Regions from separate parts of the Homo sapiens genome. Here all the other regions are linked to region 2. Evidence: promoter capture Hi-C in 16 types of primary human blood cells and fetal thymus (Javierre and others, 2016). All regions are on one chromosome and are shown on one strand. The core of a region is centred on a gene start or on the middle of the fragment in contact, and the rest is flanking DNA. Distances in the headings are between cores, read along the strand shown. Region 1 overlaps IPCEF1 (interaction protein for cytohesin exchange factors 1). Region 2 holds the start of SCAF8 (SR-related CTD associated factor 8). Region 3 overlaps TIAM2 (TIAM Rac1 associated GEF 2).

Evidence for each region. Contacts are between HindIII fragments. The CHiCAGO score rates a contact against its expected background, and 5 or more counts as called.
Region 1: a fragment that was not itself captured here is called in contact with the fragment with the promoter of SCAF8 in region 2 in 1 of 17 cell types (neutrophils); the score reaches 6.2 in neutrophils.
Region 3: a contact is called between a fragment that was not itself captured here and the fragment with the promoter of SCAF8 in region 2, in 1 of 17 cell types (neutrophils). The highest score is 7.3, in neutrophils.

Annotation. Positions count from the first base shown.
Region 1 is chr6:154,203,062-154,207,314 of GRCh38, forward strand. The region is part of intron 9 of IPCEF1 (interaction protein for cytohesin exchange factors 1); the gene reads right to left. It also overlaps a transcript of OPRM1 not described here. Among named protein-coding and RNA genes, the nearest start is that of IPCEF1, 150 kb to the right of the region's middle. The HindIII fragment of the contact is 4,421 bases long and covers 1-3,924 here.
Region 2 is chr6:154,731,039-154,735,053 of GRCh38, forward strand. SCAF8 (SR-related CTD associated factor 8) reads left to right here and starts at 2,378. Exons shown (of 20, transcript NM_014892.5): 1 at 2,378-2,892. The coding sequence starts at 2,863. RefSeq lists silencers at 2,011-2,250, 2,281-2,400, 2,551-3,150 and an enhancer at 2,411-2,914. The HindIII fragment of the contact is 14,602 bases long and covers 180-4,015 here.
Region 3 is chr6:155,251,905-155,255,833 of GRCh38, forward strand. TIAM2 (TIAM Rac1 associated GEF 2) reads left to right here. Exons shown (of 27, transcript NM_012454.4): 23 at 41-99; 24 at 1,044-1,149; 25 at 2,069-2,156; 26 at 2,515-2,669. It also overlaps a transcript of TFB1M not described here. Among named protein-coding and RNA genes, the nearest start is that of CLDN20, 10 kb to the right of the region's middle. RefSeq lists enhancers at 1,879-2,453, 2,454-3,027. The HindIII fragment of the contact is 3,714 bases long and covers 793-3,929 here.

The sequences.
Region 1 (4,253 bases), core at 464-2,963, 530 kb before region 2:
TGGCTCATTATTTCTAACATTCTGGAGAAACCAATAGCCAACATCAAGCATAGAACTCTTAGCTCACTGCCTTCTGTGAACCATCTGTGCAACATACTCATAAAGCTCCCCACTGAAGATCAAATGAAAGCAGAAGGCAGTGCTAGTCTCTCCTCTCCGCCCCACCTCTACTGGTAAATATGAGCCCAACCTTCGTGTGTCTGTTCAAACACCAACTCCTCCAGGAAGCCTTCTCTGATAGTCTCGGGGCCAGGTAGGTGCTTTGCCTGGTGCTTCTGCGGTTATTTCTATCATAATAGGTGGAATGTCATTTTGTGTATCAACTTACACAGTTGTCCCTTGAACAGTAGGGATTCAAACTGCACAGGTCCACTTAAACACAGATATTTTCCAATAAATACAGTCAGCCTTCTGTATCCATGGATTCCAAATCCATGACTAAATGGGGATGAAGACAGCGTTTGTGGGATGCAGGATGAGAAACTCAAGGATACAGGGAGCCGACTTTTCGTGTAGGTGGGTTCTGCAGGACCCACTGTGGGACTTGAGTATGCACAGACTTTGGTCTCCATGGGGTTCCTGGAACTAAACCCCCACAGATACCAAGGGATGACTGGATTGCAACTACTGATTGACTCTTCATCTTTTTGATGAGCTACCTGAGAACAGGCTGGTTTTAATCATTTTTCACCTCCATTTTTTGCCTCTTGTTTGACACATAATTGGTGACAAATTAATGACAAAGAATTGGCCAGAACCAGCTTTGTGAAGAAAAGCGCCCCAGAGTTATTCAGCCTCTGGGGGAGGAGCTCCCTGAAATCCTCCATAAAGTTGCTGAGTGATTTATCCGAATCCCAGGATCAAGGGGCTATCGGTGCCAATTACAATGCAAATAGCCTGACAAAATGTTCTCATAACCTCAGATAAAAGTATTATTTTATTTAGTTAGTGATTAATAATTGTATGTGGTTTCATTCCTTTCAGAACACTTAGGTATTAAGTATTTTATATTTAAATGAGGAAGTTAAAGACATTTCAAAAATCTTCGTTCTAGTTAAGAGACTATGATATGATTACATTAAAGATTAATACTGATTTTTCCTATTTTCTGTATAGGATAGTTTTAATTCTTGAAGAAGCATCATTCAAATGTTAGCCCTAAAATCCTTTTCTTGGAATTGTTTTTCAAACACAAGTTTGACATGGTGAAAAAATAGTTTAAAATGGCCACCCAAACCCTGTAATTAGGCAGAAGTGAGTCAGCATAGAAATCTTAAGGAGTCAAAGTACATGGAAACAAAAAAGTCTAAACAAAACAAAACAAAACCAAAATGACAAGAAAGGAAGAAAAGTACACAGCTTCCCTTTCCTTGTATTGGCCATATTAGCAAAAACAAAAAATAAACCAGTCAATTGTTGTTAAGCCCCAGGAAGTATCATGTTTGTATTTCTCCTATATGCCAGGAGAAGCATCACCCTAAATACCAGAAGACCTTGTAATAGTACACTCCTTCTCTGTCACTGACCTTCTGCATGACCTTGGGCAATGTGCTGACCGAAGATCTACTCATCACTGTGATCCTTAGTATCCATGTGACCTTGAAGAAGTCATTTTACCTGCAAGTACCATTCTAGTGGCTTCCTGCCTTATCAGTGCCCCCCATCCCACCCCAGTCCATCCTCCAAACCACAGATAGAGTATTTCTAACACACACAAAAAGTCCACAATATTCCTCTGCAGAAAACCCTCTTATAACTGCCCATCTTAAGTAGAAAAATATCCATAGTATTCATTAGAGCTTAGAAGGTCCACATGAACCCCTAAGGACTCCTCCACCTGCATCTCCTCCCTCCTTCTCCACTCCTTTCTAGCCACACTGGCCTTCTTTCTGTCCCATCACCACATCTCTGGTCCCTTCTGCCAGAAAGGCTTCCCTGTGGATGTTGGGTGGACGGCCTCCTTCCCATTGCTTGGACCTCCACTGAAATATCACTTCTTCCACAGGGTCTTCCATGACAGAGCAGACAGAGCAGTATCCTCTCCACTCCCAACCCCTGGCCACTCCCTAGCCCATTGCCCTACTTCATCTTCAGAGCATTTGTCAGTCCTTGAAGTAATTTGTTTGAATTATTACTGCATTGTCCCTCTTCCTCAACACAGAACTCAAGATGCTCAAGGGAGAAGACACCATCTAGTTCCATTCAGCATCCCTGTATTTTTTTTTAATAAAAACAGCTTTATTAAAACATTGGCTAGATGTGGAGGCTCATGCCTGTAATCTCAGCACTTTGGGAGGCCAAAACAGGTGGATCACTTGAGGTCAGGAGTTCAAGACCAGCCTGGTCAATATGGTGAAACCCTGTCTCTACTAAAAATACAAAAATTAGCTGGGCGTGGTGGTGCAAGCCTGTAATCCCAGCTACTTGGGAGGCTGAGGCAGGAGAATCACTTGAACCCAGGAGGCGGAAGTTGCAGTGAGCCGAAATCACACCACTGCACTCTAGCCTGGGCAACAAGAGTAAGACTCTGTTTCAAAATAAAAACATACACACACAAAGAAACACATTAATTTATTATGTATTATTATTTAATTAGTTACCTAACTAGTTAGTGTATATGCTGCTGAATTTGAGCGGCTGTGTATTGTAGAAATATTTCAGAGGACAATGAATAAACTGCAATTAGGACAAGGTGCACATTTTCCATTTTTGTTTACCCCAGGCTGCCACTTAAAATCAAATGCTATCATATTTGATTATTCCTTCCTTTCTAACACATCATAAAGTTTTGTATCTCCATGCTTCTGCTTGTGTTCCTCCAACTAGGATTACAATAGCAGACCCTTCGGAAACTCACCCAGATCCCCTTTACCTGGCTATGCTGCAGCCTTCCCCAGCTGCTGCTAGGCCTGAAACTAATGGCTTACATCTGAGGCTTTTGCCAAAGGATTACCTTGGCTATCAAGAGATGCCAGGAGACTTTATTCTCAAAAGCTCTTCATGGCACCCCCATATTGGTAACAGTCCCTAGCACATGGTAAATACACAAAAATATTTATCAGCTGCCTGACTAACTCAAATTTATCAAGAGGGGCAAGTGATATCCCATAAAGAATATTCTTCATGAAACATAAGCAGCTTGCAAATGCTACTTCCGATAGCTATGTGTATTTCTCTGGAACCTGGCTTCCTCATTTGTAAAACTCATACAAGATTTCTGTGAGAGTCAAATGAAATCATTCTTCTCAAAGCCATGCAAAAGCACTAGACAAGTGGAAAGTAGTATATTTCTCATTCACATGGGGAAATATTTGTGGAACAAGAAATTTGCGGGGGTTGTGGATGAAGTCACAATAATCACTCACCCATCCATCTGTCCATTAAATGTTTATTTAGTTTCAAATGTGTGCTAGGCACAGTCATAAATGATGTGGGTAAATGAAAAGATATTGGGCACTGGCTCTGACTTTAAGAATTTAATAATTAGAGAAATAAACCAGATACACAAAATCTCTAATCAAAAGCAGATTGTGATAACAACATGAAAAAAATCATCAAAAAAAGAAACACTATGGGAATACAGAGAGTTCAGAAGAGGGAAGAATTACCCTGACCTAGAGGACTAGAGATGTTCTCATGAAGGAATCTACATCTGAAGCTACCATTTTGAAAGATACTTAGAAGGTGGGATTGGGGTGGGAGTCAGGGGCAAGTGGTCCTGCAAGTGGAGAAACTTTATACCTACAGGTACGAGGGCAGGAATGTCTGGAACGCTTTTGGGGAACAGCAGGCCGTTTGTTGGGCTGACGATAAGGGCAAAATTGGCAGCAAGACTGCAATGGCAGCCTGAAGACAGGCCAAGGGCCTAAAATACCAAGCCAAAGACTCAGGAGTTAATTTAAGAAGCAATGAGAATTCACTGGAAGCTTTTGTGCAGGTGAATCAATGTGATCAGAACCGCATCTTAGGAAGACTAATTGGGAGGTGGTTTTTAGGAGGAGAGAGAGAGGGACTAGAGACAGGGAAAGAAAAATAGCCTGCTATTTCAATAACTCAGGTCAGGGCTGATGAGGGCCTCAACTAGGCAGTGGGAGCAGAAGGCAGGAGAGAGGCTGGGGGAGAGCCACCGGGCTGCGTGACTGACTGCCAGGAGAGCAGGCTGTGAATGAAGATGAGCTGTTAAAGCCAGAGGCAAAAATATAAACACGAATTTTAGCAAAGTCTTAAAATCAGTTAGATATTCAACCATATGG
Region 2 (4,015 bases), core at 1,128-3,627:
GAGGTTGCAGTGAGCCGAGATCGTGCCACTGCACTCCAGCCTGGCTACAGAGCGAGACTCCGTCCAGCCCCGCCCCAACACCCCGCAAAAAAAAAGATTGTGTTTAGGCTGCTCTCTGTATCTTCCCCCTCTGCTTACCCTGATCAAACTATGCCCTCTGTTACCATTCTGAATGCGGAAGCTTTATTAAATCAAATTGTGAAGCATGTTAACCACTGATTTTATCCTTTAGCTTGTATTGCATTTTAATTTCTCAGGCCTAAGTAATTCCATCAACACTCATTTCATGTATGACCTAATAAATAATCCCTCACAGGCCAAAGCAGCGCCTTTTTTTTCCGTTCTTTTCTTTTTTGTTTCTCTTTTTGAGACAGAGCTTCACTCTTGTTGCCCCGGCTGGAGTGCAGTCACGCGATCTCGGCACGCTGCAACCTCCGCCTCCCGGGTTCAAGCGAATCTCCTGCCTCGGCCTCCCGAGTAGCTGGGACTACAAGGGCGTGCCACCACGCCTGGCTACTTTTTTTGTATTTTTAGTACAGACGGGATTTCACCATGTTGGCCAGGCTGGTCTCGAACTCCTAACCTCAGGTGATCCACCCGCCTCGGTCTCCCAAAGTGCTCGGATTACAGGCGAGAGCCACCACACCCGGCCTCAAAGCAGTGACTTCTGATTGTGAGAACCTGGCATGCACAGAACTGAGTGCAGTACTTTCTCAAGCCACAGTAAATGCTCCTTTAGATGGAGTGATTAGGGGACCTCTTTCAGGAAGATTGAAGGAGGAGGAGTCAGCTATGGAAAGGACAAGAGCAACAGCACCCTGTGTGAAGAGACACAATTGTCCTACCTATGAAAACACTGCTTCTTGTCAAGTAACAGAAAGGCCAGTGTGGCAGGAGGAGAGTCAGGGAGCAAGGGAAGGTGGTGTGAGCTGCGGCAGGCTGGGCTGGGCCTTCAGGCCATGGTGAGAAGTTATGATGGTATCAAATGGGCAATGAGAAAGTATTTAAGGGATTTAAGTAAGGGAGTGACCTGATCTGATTTATCTAAGAAAAACATCCCTCGGCTACTGTCTGGAAATGAACTGTAGGAAGACAAGCAAGGGACCAGTTAGGAGGCTACTGCAAGTGTCAGTAAAAGATCATGGCTAGGCCTGAAGATGGGAGACGGTGGAGAAATCTGTGACAGAATTTGAGATTTTGAAAGTAAATATAAAAGCACTTGGTGAGTTATCCCTGTTACCTTCTCAGTAGCCAGGCCCTATACTAAAGCTGCCAATGAAGTAGAATGAAGGCTCTGAAACCTCAAGAAGGGCCTTACTTTCCCAGTTTCACGGGGCTCTGCGCACAGCTCTTAGGAACTACCTTGATTCCAAAACTCTCCAAAAGTACGATCCTGCCCTTATGTTCCTCTCTCCCTTTGAGTGAATTTGGGAATGATTGTTGAAAAATGACTTTCAACAAGAGGACAGCAGTGTTCGGGGTTCCACGATACATCCCTATCTTTTAACATCGATAAGTATTTTTAAATTGGTACCTTATTTTGCGCTGCACGAGAGAGAAGGCTTTTTACTAGCAGCATCTCCTAATCCATCTAAGAAATACTGTATTTACCTTTACTCCAAGTATCCTAGGGCAAAATTCCTTTAGAACAATTCATCTTCCGAAACAGACGGGTTCCCTTTTCACCTATTCAAGTGTTGTGCATTCTAGGGTCCCCTTCCCGCCTTGCAGACAAATGCGCTCATTGTGCCACTCCAGTCCCTGGATCCTATGCAGCGGGCATTTCCTGCAAGGAGCTGCTGCATGCCTGTTTCCCTCGCCGCCTGCCCCAACCCGAATCCAAGGCTTTGGTTTCTAATGTTCCCTCCCTGTGCAGTTAAAACAATTGAGTTCAGTTACTAAATAGATGACCAGGAACTTTTTCTTGGCGAAGGCTGCGGATGTTTAGGGCACTGTCCAGTAAAGTTGTGAAAAGCAACTAAACCCTGCCGCTTGTGCAAAAGGACCAATCCACCGGGAAACAAGGGAAACGCGCACATTTCCTCAACTTGCCGCTTCTTGGGCACGTTTAGGCTCTTATTAGAGCCGCGCTTTGGAGTTGCCTCCTCCTGCTGTACAAACCCGCCGCGGCGTTCCCCCGGATGCCGCAGCGCTCACTCCCGCGTCCGCGGGGCGCGGGGAGGGGGCGAGGCGCGGGCGGCCCCGGAGCCAAGGCGAGGGCAGCGGAGCCCAGCCGGGCCTACGGGCGGCGACGCTCTGGCCCCAGCGCGCTCGATGGTTTCCGCGCGGCCGCCGGGGCTCGCACGGTCCAGTCGCCAGGGGGCGCGCTAGCCGGCGCCGCGGATCCCCGAACTGCGCGGCCCGACTCGAGTCCGCCATATTGGATGCCGCAGCCGCTGCTGCCAGCGCTTCCTCCTCTGTCTTCGCCGAGCGGGGCTGGTTCCTGCGGCCCGAGCGGCGGGGAGGTGAAACAGGAGCCCGTCGGAGGAAGGGGCAGAAGGGAGTGGAGAGTGTAGGGGAAGGGGCTAGAGGGAGGGGGACCGAAACGGAGCGGGGCAGAGAAGAGAAGGCGCCGCGGCCCAGCCCCTCCCCCGCCCGCCGCCGACCCGCCCCGGCAGCGCCTCTGTTCCCTAGAACGGCGCTCCCCCCGCCCTAGCGGCCATGCCGGTGCCGCTCTGCCGCTGAGGGAGCCCTTCCCCGCCAGCGCGTGCCCTTCCACTCCGCCCCGAGGTCGCAGCGGCCCGCTCTCCCGCCAGCGCCCCCTCCTCGCGGCCACGCAGCAGCCCGCGTCTCGCTCTCCCCACCCAGTGCAGTGGCCGCCGCCTCTTCCGCCGCCGGGCTCGGGGCCTCCGCAGCGACAACATGGAGGCCGTGAAGACCTTCAATAGCGAGGTTGGTATGGCAGCCGGGTTCCCCTGCTCCTGCCCGCACCGCCCCCACCCCTGGTCGAGGCCGGGGCCCGGAGGGTGGGCGCGGGCCTGCGGGTTTTTTAAGGGTGGGGTGAGCGGTGGCCTAGCAGTGCCCGTGGGGGAGGGGTGTTTCTCCTCTGGGTGCCCCTCCCCCGGGTCCGGGAGGAGGGTTGGGGGAGGGCCGCCCTGGGGCGGAGGGAGGTTCTGGCGTCTCCGGCGTCCTATGGAATGGCTGCGAGCTCGGAGGGAAAGACCCGGTTGGGCCCTCACCCGGAGACTCCCGACAGGTCCCTCGAGGTCAGTTCCGCCGAGGCCTGGCCCGCCCACCTCCTTCCTGGGCCTTTGAGGATTTAAGTGGACGCTGGACATGACTCTCCAGACCTTCCCGGGTCCTCACTGAGGCTAACACCGATTGGGGGCGGTGGGGGAAATGAACCTACGGGGTGTTGATCTGTGGTCACGTTACACGTAGTGTTTATAATTGAGGCATTGTTGACTAGGTAATTTGCCAGCTAGGGACTTGAGCTAATTGGATGGTTGGTAGGCAGGCAAAGGTTATTCTGCAATATCTTTTATTTTTACTCGCTCCTCTTCTAATCCATCACGACATAAAGACAAATGGTAGGGAGAGATCTGTGCATCGAGAGATGGAAGATTATGGGGGAAACATTTCTCGCTGGTTCATTCACGTGTCAAACAAGATTTTAAAAAGCAGATTCCATTTTCACTGTGTAGTTGAATTTACTAGTCTGGAAGAAGACAGGTTTTGATGTATTCAATTTCTTTTTAAACTCCGACTTCAATAGGCCTTAATGTAAACATCAAACATAGCAAGTACACATCTGCACAGTCAGCATTAGTATCCCTACCCGTACGCCTTGGAAAGTGTAATTATGGCCGGGAACAGTGGCTCAGGCCTGTAATCCCAGCACTTTGGGAGGCCGAGGCGGGCCAATCACGAGGTCAGGAGTTCAAGACCAGCCTGGCCAACGTGGTGAAACCCTGTCTCTACTAAAAATACAAAAAATTAGCTGGGCGTAGTGGCAGGCACCTGTAATCCCAGCTACTTAGGAGGCTGAGGCAGGAGAATCGCTTGAACCTGGGAA
Region 3 (3,929 bases), core at 1,400-3,899, 520 kb after region 2:
GCATAAAATAAAGACTTTCTTTCTCTTTTCCTTTCTTTAGTTTTTAAGAGAGCCGTCATACTGGTTTATAAAGAAAACTGCAAACTGAAAAAGAAATTGGTAAGGCAAAAATTCATTTTAATTTAAGCTACCTTTTCATAGCTGTATCTTCCTATTAACGTTGAACTGAAAAGCCCACTGAGCACCAAGGCTGGGCTGACTGATACTGCTTACTCTGAGGGTAACTAACCCCATCACATACTGAGAGCGTTTCTGAGTCTCCCCATGAAAGATGTCTGTTTTAAAAGAAGATATACAGCTGGGCACGGTGGCTCATGCCTGTAATCTCAGCACTTTGGGAGGCTGAGGCTTGAGCCCAGGAATTTGAGACCAGCCTGGCCAACATGGTGAAACCCTGCCTCTACCAAAAATACAAGTAACTGGGTGTGGTAGCACGTGCCTGTAGTCCCAGCTACTCGGGAGGCTGAGGCAGGAGGATCAATTGAGCCCAGGAGGTGGAAGCTGCAGTGAGCCTTGATCATGCCACTGCATTCCAGCCTGTGCGACAGAGTGAGACCCTGTCAATAAATACATAAATAAGTAAATAAAGTAGATAAATACTCATATGGGGGCCTACATAGAACATCGACTTTTATATCCCTGAAAATGGCCCATGTTTGTTCCATAAACATAGTCTGTGAAACTTTGGTTTATTTTCAAATGCCTTTTACCTTCACTCAGAAAAAAGCAAAGCCTAGCTGTGGATACCATATGCCATTGGTTTACCATTCAGAGGCAGCGTCAGGGCGTGGAAGCTTTGGCTGCTGTTCTTGCTTTGAGACCTGTAACTGCTTCTGAACCACAACTCTGCCTCCGCACCTTCCCTAGCATGTGAGGTCTTTGAGAACTGGGTGCGTAGCTGATTGACTTCTGTGCCCTGAACACCCACATGGCTGCTCGGAGACTCGCCCACAGGGAGAACATAAACTTCTATTCACTGTGCACACATCCTCCCTCAGTGACAGCTTCCCTAACACTTTTCTTGGTGGGCCTTCATGTTACAGCCCTCGAATTCCCGGCCTGCACACAACTCTACTGACTTGGACCCATTTAAATTCCGCTGGTTGATCCCCATCTCCGCGCTTCAAGTCAGACTGGGGAATCCAGCAGGTAACTGTTTCGTGCAGTATGATGCCAGAAAAAGCATTTTAGTAGACTTAACTGTGGAATGTAAATTAAGAAAGGACCTTGGGGATAATTTTTGGTGCCTTTTATTTTATAGACAAGGAAAATGAGGACAAGAGAGGTTGTTTTGATGTTCCTTAGCAGACTTCTGGGAGAAACTAAATGCTGGTGGATAGCTTTTTCTTTGCCAAATGCCTTTCATTGTTTCCTTATTTTCCCTATCAATAGTTTTCAACATTTTCCTTTCTGCCTTGATACCCTAAAATGTGTTAGAAGAACAAAGATCCACAAATTTATGTTTTTACAAATTTAGAATATAGCAGAAAATTCCTTAAGGTTAGGTAGTACTGTAGGTGATATAAAAAGAAAAAAATCTTTGACTCTGGAAAATGTTCAGAGATCCTTCCAGAGTAACCTTGTTTTGGTGACAGGTATCTGGTGACAGAAGAGGCCAGCAGGCTGAGTCATGCAGTGACCTGCTGGGCTTCTGTTTAACTTTTGTCAGAAGTGCTTATGTTTTCGAGAAAATGACCACATTTGGGGCAGGCCTCTTTTACCTCAAGTACCCCAGCTCCTGTTCCTTCCAAGGAAAGGGCAAAACTGCAAAGGAGGTTGAAGAATAGGATCCACTGAATCTCCTCTTCCCCAGAGAGGGGCTCCAGAGAGAGGGTGAAGGCAGTTCAGATGGAGGAAAATCTGCAGCAGGAAATGTAAAAAGTAACCAAAAGGCATTTCAGTTCTTGTAACTGTGAAAATCATACATAGAACAAGCCACAGAAGAAAATGAGCCAGGACTGGGAATATTAGACTTTCTTAACTGATGAGATTTCAACTTTACAAGTGTTCTTAACCACAGCATTTTGGGCAAAGTTGTAGACTCTTGTTTCCATTTCCTTTTACATAGGGACAGAAAATAATTCCATATGGGAACTGATCCATACGAAGTCAGAAATAGAAGGACGGCCAGAAACCATCTTTCAGTTGTGTTGCAGGTATGACTGACTTCCAAAGATTAAAACCAACAGAAATAACATAGAATTATGTCTCTTAAGGGAATTTATATTTAGTGCCCTCCTGAATTTTGATGATATCAGGGTCATACTCCCCACCCTCCGAAAAAGGCAACTGAGGCCGCTAGTAGGAGACTATGTTGATTAAATAAATATCAAAATCTTAAGAGTGATCAATTCTCACCTCCTTCTGTACGGGAGGCCACATGGCACTGCTGCTGGGTGGCTGGCTGGCAGCCTGGTCCAGCAGGTGCAAGGCACAGGAACACAGGCGGGCGTGGAATGGAAGCACGATGAACACTGTGGACACTTCTGCTGTTTTCTCTCCCCCCCCACCCAGTGACAGTGAAAGCAAAACCAACATTGTTAAGGTGATTCGTTCTATTCTGAGGGAGAACTTCAGGCGTCACATAAAGTGTGAATTACCACTGGAGAAAACGTGTAAGGATCGCCTGGTACCTCTTAAGAACCGAGTTCCTGTTTCGGCCAAATTAGGTGAGAATTTTGCTAGCCTTGTGTTTATTCAACAAAATATTATGAGCTTCTGAAAAGGATATATGCTCTTGTAACATAGCTGTGACTTTTCACTTTGTAAGTCATCGAGGTACCTTTATCTCCTTTTAAGAAACCTAAACATGCCTCTTGCTCCCAGACGTTCTACTGTAAAATACAGCCACCCCCAACCCCCAGTCCCTTGTCTTCCTACCCGCTGACATAGTCCAAATGTACGATTTTGTTTCTTCCACTAAGATGTGCATGGGTCCAGGGACTTTGTTTTCCTCACTGCTGTATTCCCAGTGCTCAGAACAGTGCCAGGCATCCTGAAGGTCAATGCTGAATGAAGATCAAGAACCTTACACAGAGGGTCTCCACCTTCTGATGGTTCAACCTACAATTTTTCGACTTTACCGTGGTGTGAAAGTGACACACATTCAGTAGAAATCGTACTTCGAGTACCCAGACAACCATTCTGTTTTTTGCTTCTAGTGCAGCATTCAATACATTTCATGAGATACTCAACACTTAATTATAAAACAGGCCTTGTGTTCTGCCCAACCATAGGCTAATGTAAGTGTTCTGAGCACACTGAAGGCAGGCTAGGCTAAGCCGCAGTGGTTAGTAGGTACATTAAATGCATTCTCGACTTTCCATATTATCAACTTAACAATGGGTTGATTGGGATGTAATGCCATCTAAGTTAAGGGGCCTCTTATACTCGTTCTTAATCGATAGGGCACCAAGTAAGCATTTCAAATCACGTTGTTCTTTCTGCTTGTTTCTAAAATTTCAGCTTAAGTTTTCAGAACCTTATTTCTACATTAACTATTTTGTTATTATCTTTCTTGTTTTTAGGCTTAGAAAATGTAAAACTTCGCTTTTTCATGTCAAATCAGTGTGACCTCTTCAGATCTACCACATATTTACTATTTTCTCCATTGTCAAAATAAACTGGCCATCAAAATAACATGCTGTTATTACTTTGTAGAAACACCAAAACTGAGAACTCCCTTCCTTCTTTCAATCCAAGAGAACAGAACTACACACACACACACACACACCTATAACATAAAATTTCAGAAAGTTGTTTTGAAATTCCAGCAGAGACAGTTCTCATATGAGAGATAAAGAGCATTTTCTAGGCTGGGCATGGTGGCTCATGCCTGTAATCCCAGCACTTTGGGAGGCCAAGGCAGGTGGATCCCTTGAGCTCTTGAGAACAGGAGTTTGAGACCAACCTGGGCAACATGGCAAAAC